Linked DNA regions of Homo sapiens: region 1 is linked to region 2. The links are contacts of gene promoters, found by promoter capture Hi-C in blood cells and fetal thymus (Javierre and others, 2016). All regions are on one chromosome and are shown on one strand. The core of a region is centred on a gene start or on the middle of the fragment in contact, and the rest is flanking DNA. Distances in the headings are between cores, read along the strand shown. Region 1 overlaps ST6GALNAC3 (ST6 N-acetylgalactosaminide alpha-2,6-sialyltransferase 3). Region 2 holds the start of PIGK (phosphatidylinositol glycan anchor biosynthesis class K).

The links. The method cuts DNA at HindIII sites, captures the fragments that hold promoters and counts their contacts. A CHiCAGO score of 5 or more calls a contact.
Region 1: a fragment that was not itself captured here is called in contact with the fragment with the promoter of PIGK in region 2 in 1 of 17 cell types (fetal thymus); the score reaches 5.4 in fetal thymus.

What each region holds. Positions count from the first base shown.
Region 1 is chr1:76,161,543-76,164,909 of GRCh38, reverse strand. The region is part of intron 1 of ST6GALNAC3 (ST6 N-acetylgalactosaminide alpha-2,6-sialyltransferase 3); the gene reads right to left. Among named protein-coding and RNA genes, the nearest start is that of ST6GALNAC3, 88 kb to the right of the region's middle. The HindIII fragment of the contact is 742 bases long and covers 1,049-1,790 here.
Region 2 is chr1:77,217,941-77,221,066 of GRCh38, reverse strand. PIGK (phosphatidylinositol glycan anchor biosynthesis class K) reads left to right here and starts at 1,637. Exons shown (of 11, transcript NM_005482.3): 1 at 1,637-1,757. The coding sequence starts at 1,665. It overlaps LOC105378808 (a long non-coding RNA gene), which reads right to left and starts at 1,547. Exons shown (of 3, transcript XR_001738109.2): 1 at 1,414-1,547; 2 at 74-279. RefSeq lists an enhancer at 1,844-1,953. The HindIII fragment of the contact is 2,966 bases long and covers 709-3,126 here.

The DNA of each region.
Region 1 (3,367 bases), core at 170-2,669, 1.1 Mb after region 2:
ATGCAGTTTATTACTACTATCTGCATTTTTTTTAGAAAGTCTTGCAGATAGATGCCTACATTTTTCAATCACATATTTTTTTTCATTCTGGCTCTACAAAATCAGCTTTGGCATTGACTAACATCAGCCTTTCCCCTTCCTAATTTATTTACTCAAATTATTTTTATCTTTAAGATTATGATAGCAATTCCTGTGTTTGCAACACCCTATTATTATGGACTTACTGTAAGTACATAATTTGAATAGTGTATTTAAAGATTGCTGAGATATTAATGTTTTAAAATCCACCTGATTTGAGAACTGCATAACCAACCAAGTAATCACTGGACTAACAATATTTAATGAAAATAATGCTTAGGAATCCTAGACAAACATACATGCCCTTAAAGGTCTGCTTAAGGGGTACATAATGTAAAAAACAGAGTATTTTTGAAGGTTGGGATAACTTCTTTTTCTTCTCAAAAGCTGCCATGATTTTCCCTAATAGCTACCATCTACTAAAAGCCTACTCTATGCCAGGTGCTGCCCCACCCCAGAAGTTCCCTTTAGTTGGGCAGGGCCCTATTGGAGTTTCTTTACTGGCCTGAAGACTGACTTACATGATCTGTGAGTGACATGTATAGTCTAGCTCCCAGCTCTTTCCCTCTCTCCTTGGAATGGGCTGCCCACAGAAATCCTCATTCTCCTTTGCACCCTCACAGCAGCAGCCTATCAGCATATCCCTAAATGCACAGGTAATTCTGGGGCTCAGTATCACAGAGCCCACTTAACCATAGATATAAGCTACACACTACAATCTAGAATTTAGTGACATTTTGATTCTTCATCTGTTGGTTTTTCACCTTATTTCTCAATTGGCTTAGAACTAGGGTAGGAGGGTGGGAACTCCTCAACAAATCCAACATCTTAAGCATTATGCCACAAAACTTAACAATGTGTAAAAGTAGCAAAATACATCTGGAGGAATTGAGGCTAAAGGTAGGTGGCTTTTGAGTTCTGGCATGCATGTCGGCCGTAACAGTTTTTAACTTTGGCAGTTAGCAAAGCTTGTACTGGATCACAGGAATGATTTTGATTGTCTGCAGCTACCTCTTCACTGTCATGCCAACATCAGGTAAATGAATTGTGGACAAATGAATTGTGTAAATTAGCTTGAATTTTCATAACCATCCTAAAATGTAAAAGTTGTATTTATTTCATCAAACCTAAAATGTCACTGAATTTAAGACACACCATTATTTTATAATCACCAACACAGAAAAAAAATACTGCCAATTAAACTATAACATGCCATTTATTGTAAGACACATTCAAGTTTTAGAGATGTTAAAATGTGAAGAAAAGAAAATGAGTCTTACAGTAAATGAACTATGGTACTATCCTCATTTTTTATTCAAGGTAACTGAGGCTTAAAAAGAATGACTTGCCCAAGATTATACACATAGAAAATGGTTAAGTTGTCGAATCTGGGTCCCAAGTGTACACCCTCCCAACACTGCCCAGGGTACACTACAGAATTTTAGGTGGAAGATATATTTCTGCAACAAGCATTACATATTTGTTAATCACTGTGGACTCAGCATTGTGCTAAGCCCTCTGGAGACTCATAATACAAAATCAGGGCTCTTCAGTGAATTTTCAATCAATTTGATGACTCAGGAAAGATACATAAAACTTCAAGAACAACTTTTAAAATCATATAACTAAGTGTTGATCTATATAGCACTGACTAAAATACTATAAGGTTTTAGAGTAGATTGGAATCAGTTCTGAGTTAGTCAAAGGAAGCTTCATTAAAAAGAGAAAAAGACTTAAGGTAGGCACTCAAGCTGCTTTAGGATTCAGCACCCTGAGAGGGAATCTAGAATAATGACAGTTGCCATTGATTGAACACCTACAAGACCCACGCAGGACTTTTCTCAGCTCTTCAAAACAGAGCGCATGCTCTCCGGTCTCTGAGTCCACACACATGCTATTCCCCTGCCTTGGACAGTCTTTCCCCAGCTCTGGGCCTGGTCACCTCCTCTTTGTCCTTCACGTCAACCTTTAATACTACATCCTGTATGGTATTCAAGGTAACTGAGAAGTTTTATGTGACCCCTAGACCTAGCTGGGCCCCCTTGCTAACTGCTCACCTGGCACTTACATACATTGCCCCTTTGTAATTATTTGTAAATATTTACTTTAAGGCTTGTAACTGTTTATGGTTATACATCCATTAGACCCAGCTGGGTGTGCTCACCACTCTACCTCCAGGACCAACTCATAATAGGAGCTCAATAAGCTGGCTCATGATTGTCTTAACCAGGCATCCACAAATTTTATCTCATTTAAACCCTCACTACAACACTGTAAGGTCAGTACCATTATTCCCCCATTATACGGTGAAGAAACTGGGGCTTAAAATAGCTAATTAACTCACCCGCGTCCTGCAACAGAGAAAACAAAACTTCAGCCAGGTGTGCCTGACAGCAAAGGCCATGTTATTAATCATTAGGTCATACTTTCCTTCTGCTCATAAACAAAAGCATAAAGGCAGGGATAGAATGGCATTTCATGGTGCAGAGAGACTTATCTGGCTACAACGGAGAATGCGCATGCAACAGATTCAAATTAAACATTTCTTGAGTACCTGCCATATGCCAGGGACTAGGCTGAGCATCTTTTACATGGATTATCTTATTTATTCTCACAATAACCCATGGGTTTAAATTTATTATGTCTATCTTATGATGGAGAAATACAGAGGTTAAGTAACATGCCCATTCACACAGCTGTTAAGCAGCAAAGCCAACATATTAAGCTGTAAGTTTGGGCAATGATGCAACCACAGTGGATTTTAGAGGATTTTGGAGCACAGTTTTTGAAGACCTTTTTTTGCCTGGCCCTGTCCCCAATTTGAGTGCCAACTGTCTGCCAATTGGCATTGGCAAATGTCGATTTCCAACTTTTTATGACCAACCCTGATCTTCAGTTAAGGGTTTTTGACCAAAGCCTGACAATATTTGACTGAAGCACTAATGCAAACTCTGGAATTAAATAACATTTAGAAAAGAAAGCCCAGTAGAAATACACAGACCCAGCATGAGGCACTGTGTTTAACTGGTGTATGTACAGACCCTGTCCAAATCAATGGGTGTCCCTTTAAGGCCAATTACGTAGCTCATTGTTGGGGCAAGCCAGAGTTAGGAGAGCCAAATTACAGAACAGCCCTCAGTAAAAAGAAATGTAAAGCTCTTTTCTCCAGAGATTGGGTATTATCTTCCCAGCAAGTACTTTAAGACATCAGCATCGGCCCATCTGCAATATAAATTTAGATCTCAGTAGAGTATGTAAAGCATCCTTGGGTGATTAGCAGAGAGAAAAA
Region 2 (3,126 bases), core at 388-2,887:
GGCATAATCATTAATCTTGTCAGACATTATCTTATGTACAGGAAGAGGCAAGGGCTAGGATCACCAAACTTACCTTTTGTAAAAATTCAGTGATTCAGGCAAGAGATGTGCAAACCTATTCCCTATCCTGCTTATGGTCTTCAAGGCATTCTTCCACAAGGCTGCTCACAGTCAATGAGTCAGGGGCTTTGTGAAATATTGCTGGCAAAGGAGCAGAATGAGCAAATGGCTTCTTATCTTTGCTACTTTGTTTCATAATCATCAGCATCCAATAGATATCTGTTGAATTAATGAATACATGGAAGATATTCTGGCAGTGTATTTACTTTCTAGGATTCACGTAACGGAAAACCTAAATTTGACTAAATAGCATGAAACCTCTCACAAAGTGCAATAGCAAAAGAAACAAATAAAAGGAAAAGAGAGACAAGAGAATGGGAAAAGCAATAGCATAAAATATGGCAAAGGCTAATGTTACTTATTTATAAATATATTATTCAAATTCATATGCAAAACATAAATATATAAACAAAGAATTTACATCAGAGGACACAGAGATAGTTTAGAAACACAAGAAAGACATCAGATCTTGATAGTAACCAAAGAATTATAAGTATAGTTACCTAGGGGTAACATTTCATACCAAAGAATTTAAAGGAAAAAAAATGGTATGGTTTGGTGTTGTGTATTCTGATAGTGCTGTAAGCTTGTTCATTTTGGAAAGCAACATCATTTATAGTTATTAAAATGTTTTGGAATATTTTGACCCCAAATTCCTAGTTCAGGAAAATTATACAAACAAAATAATTCAACAGATTTAAAAAGCCAAACACACAAAAGATACTCTTTACAATATTATTTTCATAGTAAAACTTAAAAACTTTGCATTGTGCAGCAGAGGGACAATTACTTTGGCTGAGGCATCAATAATGGATGGAATTTTATCTCACCATTAAATGTTAAAATTGTGAGGAAGCAGCGTGGAAACGTTTATGTCATACTAGATGAAATGCATAAATTAAAACTGAACTCACATAATAAAGAGAATGGTGGACCATACATATACACCAGCTGTGTCTCTTCCAGATAGGCTTTAGTTCCATAATTACAGAAGATACTCAAGAAACAAAAACGTAACTAGCTTCCCATGTTAATCCTTTCACCAGGTAGTAGACCCCAAGCCTCTAAATTGCAGCGCCCACCCACATTTTCCATTTATAGTTTATCCAATTAATCATCTTTTTGTGCCAAAACGCTTGTTCTTCCCACCACATCCAGCTTCATATTTTCAAAGAATTGGCAGCACTCGGCAAAATAAATAAATAAATAAATAAATAAATAAATAAAATAAATAAGGGAACAGAGAAATAAGTTTTTAAAGTTTAAGGAGTTACGGGTTTTCCCTCCACTCACCTTTCAATTTTTTTTCTTAAATGTTATACCTATTTTACAACCTCCAAACTGAAAATGCAGTTAAAAATAAAAAGGTCAATATCCTGCGTCTACCTTGTCCCGGACTCTCGAGCTCCACAAAACCGCAGAGTTCTAAAGCCGGACCAGAGGGCCACCTCGAAGAGGCGCGGATGGTGTCGCAAAAACCCGCAGCGCTACTTTACGGCACTGCCTCCGCCCCTTCAGGTGCGGGAAGTCTGAAGCCGGTAAACATGGCCGTCACCGACAGCCTCAGCCGGGCTGCGACTGTCTTGGCAACTGTGTTGCTCTTGTCCTTCGGCAGCGTGGCCGCTAGTCATATCGAGGTAGGAGTCAGGCTCATTTGACCACAGCCGGGAGGCCGGCTGTGAGCCCTCCAGCAGATGTCCGATACACAGTAGCTGAGGGACGCCTCCTGGAGTCAATCAGCCCCTGACCCAGGCTGGGTTTGAGGAGGGTATCACTGGGCACGGGTTAGGACACTGTTGGTCTGTTTCAGCGTTTTAAAACGATGAATTGAAATAATCAAACCCTCGGAGACAGAGGAGGACCTGATCCTTTGCTCCTACATGTGTGCAGTTCTTAGGTGAAATACGAGCAAGAGGCTCGTGAAATGTCAGTGTGCAGCAACTGCTTTCCTACTACTCAACTGCAGCCCTCTGTTTTGATAGGAGTCAGACGGAACTGGAGAGATGAGGGCAATTTTAAGAATCCAGATAATAGAATTTAGTGATAATTAGAACATGGGATAAATATAAGTGTTTATTAAAACTCTCAAGTTTCTGGCTTAGGGGCAACACGTCTGGGTTAAGAAATGGAAGAGAAAAGGGGTGCTTAGTTTTATCCTGGGCTCCTCCAGCTTCCCATTTTTAAACGTGGACACAGGATGTTCTGGTGCTCTATAATGCTTTTACTATTCACCATACTCTGATGATTCCTCAGTCCCGGTCTACAATCTAGATGTCTGGTATCTTTTTCAGGCCTGCATATCCAGCTGACTAAGAATCCGGGATAGTCAGGAGACATTTGAAAATCCGTGTGCAAAGTTTTATCTTCTGCTTATCCTACCTCCTCTTAAAAAGACACTGAAAAACTAAGCACCCCTTTTCTCCTCCATTTCTCAACCAGATGTGCTGCTCCTAAGCTAGAAACCTGAGAGTCTTAATCTCTTTATCCCATATTCTAATTATCACTAAATTTTGTGATCTGAGTTCTTAAAATTGCCCTCACCTCTCCAGTTCCACTGACTTAATTCAGGCTGTGATCACTTCTTGTCTAGACTCTTGCGATTACTTTATCTTGTTTTCCATAGGCCTCCATACTCCCTGAGTTTGGTGCTAGATTCGTCTACACGAAATGTAAGCCTGATCAGGTTATTCTTCTGATGAAATCTTTTAAATATTTATTAATTGCATACAGAATAAAGTCTAAACGTTATGACCTGGTGCTTGCCTACTTTTCCAGTGTTCCATATTGGAACCTCTTCTCCCCACCACCTGGGCACCTTGAGCTTAGACCAGTGGACTCCAAACTTTTTGAATACACACCCTATCAGTTAAAAAAAGATATTGAGCATGAACTTCATATATATTTATGAATTACTGTTAATTTATATATTTGATGTTTATATAGCATAATTTTTAGAGAACATAAATATGAGTAAATAGAAGTTCTGTTTCCCTCCTTTATTCTAAC